Linked DNA regions of Homo sapiens: region 2 is linked to region 1. The links are contacts of gene promoters, found by promoter capture Hi-C in human tissues and cell types (Jung and others, 2019). All regions are on one chromosome and are shown on one strand. Each heading gives the region's core, a stretch centred on a gene start or on the middle of the fragment in contact. The rest is flanking DNA. Distances are from core to core; before and after follow the strand shown. Region 1 holds the start of DHX30 (DExH-box helicase 30). Region 2 has its middle 46 kb from the start of CDC25A.

Region 1 (5,694 bases), core at 1,072-3,571:
CAGTCACTATGGTACAGATCTCAAAGTCATCTCTCCACACACTTGTGGCCTGGGCTCAGTCTGCTGCTCAACAGTCACCCCCCCTTTTTTTTCTTTCTTGCTTTTCTCACTGTTGAGTTAAATCTTTCATTCTCTCTCGGGATCTAATTAGCATGCTAGTTTCTATTTTCCCAGCTGATTCAACCCTTTCACTTCCAGAGGAAGCTTTCTAAATTACAGTATTGGCCCAGCGTGGTGGCTCACGCCTGTAATCCCAACACTTTGGGAGGCCAAAGTGTGTGGACCACTTGAGGCCAAGAGTTCGAGGCCAGCCTGGCCAACATGGTGAAACCATCCCTAGTAAAAATACAAAAATGAGCTGGGCATGGTAGTGCACACCTGTAATTCCAGCTACTTGGGAGGCTGAGGCAGGAGAATCGCTTGAACGTGGGAGGTAGAGGTTGCAGTGAGCCGCAACCACCCCACTGCACTCCAGCCTGGGTGACTGAGTAGAGACTCTGTCTCAACAACAACAAAAAAGTGCAGTATTTTACTCTCCTAATAATTTTTTAAATGTCTTACCAAAAAAAGTAAAAATTCCTTAGTATGGCACTCCCCAACAGTTTTTCAGTTCTATTTCCTGTAAAGCTTGCACACACATCCAACCCTGTGGTCACACTGAACTACTGAATATTCCTAGGATTTGTCCCTTGTTCCACTCGTATGTCTTTGTTCACGTTCCTTTCATTTTGCCATTCAGGAGTAACCACTCCTTTCTCTGAACTCTTGGAGTACCTAATACCTCCTTTCCAGCATTTACCACTTTCCATTTCCTTCACACAATGTTGTCATCTTCTCTACTAGGCTCTAAGTCCCTTGAGGCAGGGCCTTTGTAGCCTCCACACCAGCTTAGCAACTGATACACAGAGCACTCAGATGTCCGTGCAGGGATCTCTCTATTCTCCACACAACACAGCACCATGCCCTGTTCAGATGCACTAATTATTTGAATGAATAAATGATGTTCCACCCCCACACCCCGGTCTTCTAGCCAATGTAGAGAGAAAGAAAAGAGATACATGTTGAACTGTTTGCACACAAAAGTGACGGGATATGGCACTAATTCTTCATACAGCCTCAAAGGTCACATCTTTTTTTTTTTTTTTTTTTAAGTTTCATTCTTGTCGCCCAGGCTGGAGTTCAATGACACGATCTCGGCTTACTGCAACATCCGCCTCCCGGGTTCAAGTGATTCTCCTGCCTCAGCCTCCCGAAGTAGCTAGGATTATATGCGCCCGCCACCACGCCCAGCTAATTTTTTTGCATTTTTAGTTGAGACGGGGTTTCACCATGTTGGCCAGGCTGGTTTTGAACTCCTGACCGCAGGTGATCCACCCGCCTTGGCCTCCCAAAGTGCTGGGATTACAGGCGTGAGCCACCACGCCCGGCCTAAAGGCCACATCTTAAAACCATACTCTGTAAAATCCTGACCCAGCTTCAGAGCTACGCCACTGCGTTGTTTCCTTTTGAAGCTGAATTCCACTGAACCTATACTTGAACCTTATCTAGAGGACTACAGCGTGTAATTGGGACAATCCCCTTTCTCATTCCTAAGAGGTGATGTGGCCGGGCGGACCTCCAGATTTCCAGCAACTATGACTGGCACTCTCCCCGCGACCAGCAAGTGCCACCTTGTCCTTTGCCTAACGTTGTACAGTTTACGAAATCAACGAACCAACACGTTGATTTCATCTTCCCTGCAAACTGGGGAGACAAGACAAAAATGCTCACCTCCCTAAAAAAACAGATTAGAGGGGAGATGGGGAAGAGAAGAGGCGTGGCTACGAGCTGTGGCGGGGAAGGCGGGTGGAATCCCGGAGCCCGAGCTGGAAACCGTTCCCCGCTCAGCCATGACCCGGGCTGTTTATTCGCATCAGGAGGCGCGGGTGGCTCGCAGAGGGCGAGAAGACCCTTCCCGCTTTCACACTGCAGGCAGCTAAGTCGCCGAGAAAGGCAGCAACTTGACGCCCGACCCCGCCACCCAAACCCGCTCGCTCTGCGACCCCAGAGCAGCCGGCGCCAACCCGTCCCCTTCGCGACTCCGCCGGAAGTCCCGCCTGCACCGCCGCCGCGCCCCATTGGGCCGGGTGCTGGGGCATCCCGGGCGCTGGGTGCCCCGAGCGGCTACGACGAGTCCCAGGTGGGGCCGGGCTCCAGGCCCGCGGGGGAGCGGAGCCGTGCGCCGCAGGCGGGCTCCGTGACGCCGGGTGGGGAACGCCGGGCCGGTGGCGGGACTTCCGCCACGGGACTCGGAAGGGGCCGCGCCGCCGCTGCTGGGAGTTGTAGTCCGGCCGTGGTTGGGGGAGCCGCGGCTCATGCGCGGTGCACAGAGGCTTGTTTCACATCTGTAACAACAGGTGAATTGGGCTTTTTATTCTCCCCTTTCGTGCCCTCTTGAGGAGCCTGCCGCGGCCGGGGGTGGTCGTCGTGAGGAGGGGGCCCGGTCCGACCGCCAGCCTGGCGGAGAGTGGGGCGGAGACGCCGGCGGGCCCGAGGAGCAGGCCGGGCATCCTAGGCCTGCCCGGGAAGCCGGCCCGGCCGATCCGTGGGCAGCCAGGCCTCGGCCTGCCGTTGCCATGGAGCCCGGGCGGGGGCGGGGGCCAGACCGGTCCGCCGGGGCGGGCCTCGCAGCCAGGGGCTCCGCGGAGGCCGTGGGAGAGGCCGCTTCATTGGCGCAACGACGCCTTCGCCTCGGGATGCGCCGTTTCCCCAGGCAGGGCCTGGAGGAAGCCTCCTGAGTGCCCCGAGACCTTTGTCTACTTCTCCTCCTTCCCGGTGCTGCCCGGACCGTTCGTCCAGAGGGAGGCCCGGTGCCTTCTGGCCCCCCTAGTTTGCCCCCTTTTGCACCGACCTTGTCACTGGGGGAGGCCAAGGGGTGAGGTATTCTTTGTTTGCTGGTGGTAACTTGTCCCATTTAGCAGGGGAAGACCAAATGCATGTTGGGTCCTTTGTTTGCAGTGAACTGGAGTCCCAGGGGTCCTCAGAAACCCTAAGCCAGGGATATGGCATATCTAGTCGTTGTGTAGCAACATTGGTCACTTGAATTATGATTTTTCAAGGCAGAGGCTGTTTCACTTTACAACCCCACTCCATGAGGGTTTGCCATACACTAGCAGGTAGACTGCAGAAGGCCACTTACAGGCTTTCAACCTGGTTTTAGTTGCAGCTTATGGGCCAGAGTGAAATGAGACGTTGTCTGGTGATTTCCCTTGAAGTTTCTTGCAAGGTGGTAACCCCACTGTCATTGTGGGTTTTAACTACATCTTGTAATTTACACTTAAATCTTAGAGATTTAAGGCGATGTGCAGAAACTACATCCTTTGCTGCGTTTTCTACCGGTGTTGGCTCTTTATCCCTAAAAGATAGTTGCTCTTCAAGTGTTTTAATTTATGTAGCTGTGATACAAAGTTTTATTAGGGCCGGGAGCGGTGTCTCACGCCTGTAATCCCAGCACTTTGGGAGGCCGAGGCGGGTGGATCACCTGAGGTCAGAAGTTTGAGACCAGCCTGGCCAACATGGCTAGACCTCGTTTCTACTAAAAATACAAAAATTAGCCGGGCATGGTGGCGTGCGCCTGTAACCCTAGCTACTTGGGAGGCTGAGGCAAGAGAATTGCTTGAACCCAGGAGGCCGAGGTTGCAGTGAGCCAAGATCGCGCCATTTCACCCCAGCCTGGGCAACAAGAGCGAAACTCCTTCTCAAAACAAAACAAAACAAAAACCACACACAAGTTTTATTAGCTGTTGGACCTTTCTTGCCCCTTTCAGCCTTTGAAGATAACAGTATAATATGTCTCAAGGAATGAACCGTAGTACATTTAGGCAACAGCATAATATCCTGGAAATAAGAAAATTAGCCTAGTATAAGCATGGAGGGTTTTGGAGTCAGCATGCTTCAATGCTGATTTCCATCTGCCCTGAGGCAGCTATGGGATCTTGGGCAGGTTGTGTAACCTGTGCTTCAGTTTTCTTCTCTGGAAAGATAATTCCTACCTCACTGGATAGTTGCCTGGATTAAATGGGGTAAAGTCTATGGAAGTATGTTGTGAACTGTAAAAATGGTATTCAACTTTGAGTTATTGTTATTTTCCCAATCTTGAAGAGTATTATAGCTTCTTTATGTTAGATTATCATAATTATTATGGGATTAGAACTCAAAGTGGAAGTAGGTTTTGCTCTGGGCTTCCAGAAAATGCTTTTCAGGCTTACAAGGCTTTCTTTACCTTGACATCTTCTTAGATGATGTCAGAAGACTTCAGCACTTCTACAGGTGCTGGTGTAGGACAGCTTACAATTTAATGGGCCTAGAATGGGTCATGGTAAGTCCTGATTTGTAAGGCCATTTTGTCCAGTATGTGCCCTTCATGCCACTAACAAAATTTGTCCTTGTTAGAGCTAGTAAATGATGGTTGGAGCAACTTTCTTTCCCTATGGGGCCTCCACTGTATTGACTCAGCGTTGTACTTCTCAGGAGGAGGCCCAGCCTCGTGATGAGGAATAGCAAGGAGAGAATTCAGCTCCAGTTCAAAAGCCTACAAAATCTGAGACTGTCATTGCTTTTATAAGGTAAGTTGATTTAGCCGTGCACAGAGCAGTGGTGGATCTGATGCTCAGCTGTACTGTAAAACAAGAGGTATGTGTTAAACCTATTTCTGACCATTTTGGAAGAAGGATATCATTTATTTTATTTTGTTTTATTTTTGAGACAGAGTCTCGCTTTGTCCCCCAGGCTGGAGTGCAGTGGCGCGATCTTGGCTTGCTGCAACCTCTGCCTCCCAGGTTCAAGCAATTCTCCTGTCTCAGCCTCCCAAGTAGCTGAGATTACAGGCGCCTGCCACCATGCCCAGCTGATTGTTTTGTATTTTTAGTAGAGACTGGGTTTCACCATGTTGGCCAGGCTGGTCTCAAACCCCTGACGTCAGGTGATCAGCCTGCCTCAGCCTCCCAAAGTGCTGGGATTACAGGCATGAGCCACTGTGCCCAGCCAGAAGGGTATCATTTTTAGTCATTGTGGAGTCTCTGTCCTGGAACCATCCCCAAGTGACTCTACCTGGAGTTAAATTGTATTTCATTATGCAGGAAATCTTGATATAATAGCATTTTACTTATCTGTAAATTACTTAAGAGACACATTGAGCTACAAGGTTTTTTGTTTTTGAGACAGTCTTGCCCTGTCGCCCAGGCTGGAGTGCAGTGGTGCAATCTTGGCTCACTGCAACCTCCACCTCCTTAGTTCAAGCAATTCCCCTGCCTCAGCCTCATGCCACCAAGCCCGGCTAATTTTTTTGTATTTTTTTTTTTTTTTTTAGATGGGAGTCTCACTCTGTTGCCCAGGTTGGAGTGCAGTGGTGGGATCTTGGCTCACTGCAACCTCTGCCTCCTGGGTTCAAGCGATTCTCCTGCCTCAGCCTCCTGAGTAGCTGGGATTACAGGTGCGCACCACCACGCCTGGCTTATTTTTGTATTTTTAGTAGAGATGGGGTTTCACCATTTTGGTCAGGCTAACCTCAAACTCCTGACCTTGTGATCTGCCTGCCTCTGCCTCCGAAAGTGCTGGGATTACAGGTGTGAGCCACCGTGCCTGGCCAATTTTTTTCTTTTTTTTTTCTGAGATGGAGTCTCACTCTGTCACCCAGGCTGGAGTACAGTGGTGCAA
Region 2 (5,694 bases), core at 2,282-4,781, 340 kb after region 1:
TGAACCCGGGAGGTGGAGGCAGGAGTGAGCCGAGATCACACCATTGCACTCCAGCCCAGTCAATAGCGCAAGACTCCATCTCAAAAATAATAATAATAAAAAAATATATAGGCCGGGCTTGGTGGTTCACACCTATAATCTCAACTCACTGGGAGGCAGAGGTAGGAGGATTGCTTGAGGCCAGAAGTTCAAGATCAGCCTGGGCAGCACAGCAAGACTACATCTCTGGCCAGGCGCGGTGGCTCACGCCTGTAATCCCAGCACTTTGGGAGGCTGAGGCGGACGGATCACGAGGTCAGGAGTTCAAGACCAGCCTGACCAACATGGTGAAACCCCCATCTCTACTAAAAATACAAAAATTAGCTGGGCATGGTGGCGCGTGCCAGTAATCCCAGCTACTTGGGAGACTGAGGCAGGAGAATCACTTGAACCAAGGAGGTGGAGGTCATCCGTGGTTGAGACCCACTGTCTCCTTTTTTTTTTTTTTTTGAGACGGAGTCTCGCTCTGTCACCCAGGCTGGAGCACAGTGGTGTGGTCTCGGCTCACTGCAAGCTCCGCCTCCCGGGTTCACGCCATTCTCCTGCCTCAGCCTCCTGAGTAGCTGGGACTACAGGTGGCTGCCACCACGCCCGGCTAATTTTTTGTATTTTTAGTAAAGCCAGGGTTTCACCGTGTTAGCCAGGATGGTCTCGATCTCCTGACCTCGTGATCCGCCCACCTCAGCCTCCCAAAGTGCTGGGATTACAGGTATTAGACACCACGTCTGGCTCATCTTTTTTTCTTTTAATTAAAATTTAAAAATTAAAAAAAAATAATCATATGGACAAACCCCTAGAGAGCAGAGGAAGGAATAATTAACACTGCCCAGGGGAGTCGGAAGAAGCTTTGGAGGAGGATTGAACTGAGAGAAAAAGATTGGCAGGAGTTTGTTGTGCAAAGAAGGGGAGGGACAGGTGTTTCACCGGAGGGAGCAGCATGTTCAGGGACACACAGCTGTGAACAGGCAAATTGTTGAGGAACGCTGAGAAGTTTGCCTGGACCCGAGGACGAACAGGGAGGCAGGAAGTGAGGCAGGAAAGGCCAGTGGGCAAAACGGAACATGAGACCTTGCTGTGACCTTCAGACAATCTAAACTGCTTGAGAGGTTGAGAAGCTTTGCATTTGGAAGGGAAATTAGCATTTGTGCTGAGAAATAAAGCCGTGCATGGAGCGACAACTCTGTGTCCAGAGCTTTACAAGCATTTGCTCTACATCACAATAAAGTGTGTATTTCACAGACAGGGACACAGAGCTATGGTCTTTCTGCAGTGCAAGCTCTCTGCGAGCAGGGAACACGACCCCAGCACAGCCCTACCAGCTCCTTTGAGGGTGAGGACACCCTCACTTGGGAAGAAGCAAGTTGGAGCTTTATTTTATTTATATATTTATTTAATTAGTTATTTAGTTATTTATTTATTATTACTATTGAGACAGGCTCTCACTCTGTCACCCATGCTGTAGTGCAGTGGCGTGATCTTGGCTCACTGCAGCCTCCACCTCCCAGGCTTGGGTGATCCTCCCACCTCAGCCTCCCTGGTAGCTGGGACTACAGGCATGAGCCACAATGCCTGGTTAATTTTTTGTATTTTTTGTAGAGATGGGTTTGCACTATGTTGCCCAGACTGGTCTCAAATTCCTGAGCTCAAGTGATCTCCTGGCCAGCACTGTGGGAGGCTGAGGTGGGAGGATTGCCTGAGTTTGGGGAAGTTGAGGCTGCAGTGAGATCATGCCACTGCACGCCAGCCTGGGCAACAGTGTGACACCCCATATGAAAAAAACAAAAAAACTGTTGGATGAAGTTTTCTGTAAATATTAATAGTTATTTTAGTTGTCTCTTGGCTTTGGCCAGCACCTTTGGGGAGTATCTCCCAGGCTGTCTGTGGTTCACCAAAATCATGTGGAAAAGGAAGGGGCTCCATTCACTCACTTCCATAGTGATACCCAGGGTGAGAGTGCTCCATAGAGCACTCCCCCGACAGGCAGGCTGCTGAGGGAAGACTTCCTGGAGGGCAAGAGGCCTAGATGACCCAACTAGGAAGAGAGGGAGAAGTGGAGGGGTAGAGTGGGAGATGAGCTCAGGAATGAGGGCAGGGTCTGGTGGAGGCTGCTTGGAGAGGCCACTCAGAGGGAAGAATACCTGCTCCTGGCTCTGCCTGTCACCTCTTGGTTCCTTGTTTCCTCATCTGCCTCAGCAGGCTTCTCTGACCGGGTGGTGGGCAGTGGGAGAGGGTGGAGGAACGACCTTCGCCTCAGCCAGAGTATGGGGCAGGCCCTCTGTGGGGACAGCTGCTTCATGGCTTAGCCTTAGCTGATTATGGTGGCCTCACCATGCCTGTCTGTCCATCTGGAAAATGGGCTCAATAATGGTATCTGCCTCATAGGGTTTCACGAGGACTCGAGGGAGATGACTTTTGCTGCTGTCTTGATTTTGTCTGTTGTTTTTGTAGTTACACAGAGGATAACAGATGAATCAGACACTGAACCTGCCCAACCCTATGTGCTGGACTCATCATAATCATACCTGGGACTTTTGAGAACTTACTGGAACTGTGCTACGTACCCTATATGTATTAAGTCATTTAATTTCCTTTCCTTCCTTCCTTCCTTCCTTCCTTCCTTCCTTCCTTCCTTCCAGACAGAGTCTCGCTTTGTCGCCCAGGCTGGAGTGCAGTGGCACGATCTCAGCTCACTGCAACCTCCGCCTCCCGGGTTCAACCGATTCTTCTGCCTCAGCCTCCCAAGTAGCTGGGATTACAGGAATATGCCACCACGCCCAGCTTATTTTTATATGTTTAGTAGAGATGGGGTTTCACCATATTGGACAGGCTGGTCTAAGTCATTTAATTTTCAAACCACCCTGCTATTTATCCACACTTTACAGATAATGAATCTGAAGTTTCCATCCACCCATCCCCTCCTCCGCTCAGGCGCTCACCAAATCTTACACTCATGAGGTGCTCAGTAGCCTGTGCTTTGGGGCAGCCCACACTTCTTAGCACACCTGGCCCTCCTGACCCAGCCAGATGTCTGGGCAGGCCTCGGAGCTCCCAGACCAGTCACCGCACCCTGTTTCAGCCGCACCTGGCCACCTTCCCTCCCCCGCTGGGTAGCTTGGCAGCTGCCAAGGCTCCTCATTCTTCCTCCTGCACACCCAGCTGTTTGGGCACTGGCAAATGCCAGGCAGGTGAGGTGCCTCAGCTTCCATCGGCCCTGCTACCCTTGCCCTCGAGGTGCAGCATAGGCGTGGGGTGGGGAGCAGGGGAGAGACAGGGTGTCTCCCAAGCTCAGGAGCGCTGAGACTAGACTGCAGCTGAATCACAGCATTAACCCATCTAGAACCAGGGCTCAGGAGAACAAAAATGCCTGTGCATGGCCAGCTGGATCGAGGGAGAGACATGATGCCCAAGAACCTGAGTACCCAGGAGGTGCCCTCTGCCCAGATGTGGGAACAATTTCTCTCACTCATCAAACTTAGATCAAGTGGCCCCAATCTCTTCCTTTATTCTCAACTATTGGTTCAGGACCCATCATGAGGTCAGGAAGGAGAGGGAAAGCAGGGTCTTCCTGCCATAAATTAGTACATTAAGTCTTTCTTTCTTTCTTTCTTTTTTTTGACAGTCTCACTCCATCGCCCAGGCTGGAGTGCAGTGGCACCATCTCGACTCACTGCAACCTCCACCTCCGGCGTTTAAGCGATTCTCCTGCCTCAGCCTCCTGAGTAGCTGGGATTTCAGGCGCCCAGCACCACGCCTAGCTAATTTTTGTATTTTTTAGTAGAGACAGGGTTTCGCCATGTTGGCCAGACTGGTCTCGAGCTCCTGGCCTCAAGTGATCCACCTGCCTCGGCCTCCCAAAGTGCTGGGATTACAAGTGTAAGCCACTGCGCCCAGCCAGAAATTAAGTCTCATAGAAATTCAATGTTGGGCCGGCGCGGTGGCTCATGCCTGTAATCCCAGCATTTTGGGAGGACGAGGAGGGTGGATCACCTTTAGTCTCTACTAAAAATACAAAAATTAGCTGGGCGTGGTGGCCCATGGCTGTAATTCCAGCTACTCGGGAGGCTGAGGCAAGAAGAATCGCTTGAATCTGGGAGGCAGAGGTTACAGTGAACTGAGACCGCACCACTGCACTCCAGCCTGGGTGACAAGAGCAAAACTCCGTCTCAAAAAAAAAAAAAGAAAGAAAGAAGAAGAAATTTAATGTTGGTGTCACCAAGAGATTGCTTCTGGACTCAGTAAATTGAAGCCCAAATTTGGAACTGAAGGCCAGAGGTGAGCAACCTGTCCCAGTGCTCTGCAAGGCGGCCGATGCCAAGCCAGCACCCTTCCCACCATTCTGTGCTGCTTTGTGTTAGAGGAAGGAAATGTCCTGTGTGAATGTACTTTTAACAAAAAGAGAAGACAAAAATAGCCAAAGAATGCTATAAAGGACCCTGAAAATAATCTCCCATTTGTTCAGGGACCACTGAGTTCCTTGGTGGGGTGGACCCAGTGTCCTGCAGAAAGGAGACAATGGCTCAGGCCTTCAAGGATTTTCTTCCCTCCAGACCCACTCCTGTGGGGCTCTTTCCATCGGGGCTCAGGCCTGGGGGTGTTTCCTCACCCCAGTATTCCTGGAAACTCCACCTATCCCACAATTTCCCTGTCTCACTCACCATTCTGCAGCCAGAGGCAGGGCTTGTCAGTGAGGTAGGTGGGGCCAGAGCAGAGGCTTCATGTTTGGTGGCAGCAGGAGTTACCAGGCTAAGGCCTGGAAAGTCCAACACAGAGCTCTGTCCCTATCACTAACTCTGAAGCTCGCGCTCGGTGGCTTCCTGAAATTTCCCCTTCCAACTTCCCACCAGTCAGCCTACTCTCCACCTCCCTGAGAAGCAAGCTCAGCAGCCCATCTCTTGAGAAGGTGACTTGAAAGTGGGAGAAAGTCAAGAAAGAGTCTAGGCCACCAGACGCGGTGGCTCACGCCTGTAATCCCAGCACTTTGGGAGGCCGAGGAGGTCAAATCACCTGAGGTCAGGAGTTCGAGACCAGCCTGACCAACATGGAGAAACCCCATCTCTACTAAAAATACAAAATTAGCCGGGCATGGTGGCGCATCCCTGTAATCCTAGCTACGCAGGAGGCTGAGGCAGGAAAATCGCTTGAACCTGGGAGGTGGAGGTTGCAGTGAGCCGAGATTGCACCACTGCACTCCAGCCTGGGTGACAGAGTGAGTCTCAAAAAAAAAAAAAAAAAAGAAAGAAAGAAAGAAAGAAAGAAAAGAAAAACAAAGAGTCTGGCCTTAGAACCTGAAGCCCAAACATCTACTTCCGTCTCTGCTGTTTGTTAACTGAGTACCGGAAGCAACTCACCCACCTCCATGAGTATGAGTGTTTGCATCCATAAAATGAGGGTGAATTCCATCCTGTGAGAATCAAATGAAAATGGCCACATAGAAGAGAAAACAGCATCCCCAAAGTTAGTCCTCAGGAACTTAAGTCCAATGAGATACTCCATGGAGAAAAGTCTCCATGGGCAAATAGGTTTGGAAAATGCTCTGTCGTCTCTTGAAATTCATGATGCATGCTGGCAGGCCAAGCGCTCTGAGAAACCCTGCAATAAAGAGAACAGGTGAAAATTGTTTAACTACAGGTGTGTACCACCACACCCAGCTAATTT

What was found. The method cuts DNA at HindIII sites, captures the fragments that hold promoters and counts their contacts. A contact is called where the count stands out against the background at its distance.
Region 2: a fragment that was not itself captured here is called in contact with the fragment with the promoter of DHX30 in region 1 in 2 of the 25 tissues and cell types used here (liver and lymphoblastoid cells).

Annotation. Positions count from the first base shown.
Region 1 is chr3:47,800,817-47,806,510 of GRCh38, forward strand. DHX30 (DExH-box helicase 30) reads left to right here and starts at 2,322. Exons shown (of 22, transcript NM_138615.3): 1 at 2,322-2,396; 2 at 4,510-4,604. RefSeq lists silencers at 1,893-2,742, 3,920-4,116 and an enhancer at 2,467-2,992. The HindIII fragment of the contact is 11,371 bases long and covers 416-5,694 here.
Region 2 is chr3:48,139,404-48,145,097 of GRCh38, forward strand. No RefSeq gene overlaps it. Among named protein-coding and RNA genes, the nearest start is that of CDC25A, 46 kb to the right of the region's middle. The HindIII fragment of the contact is 7,474 bases long and covers 1-5,694 here.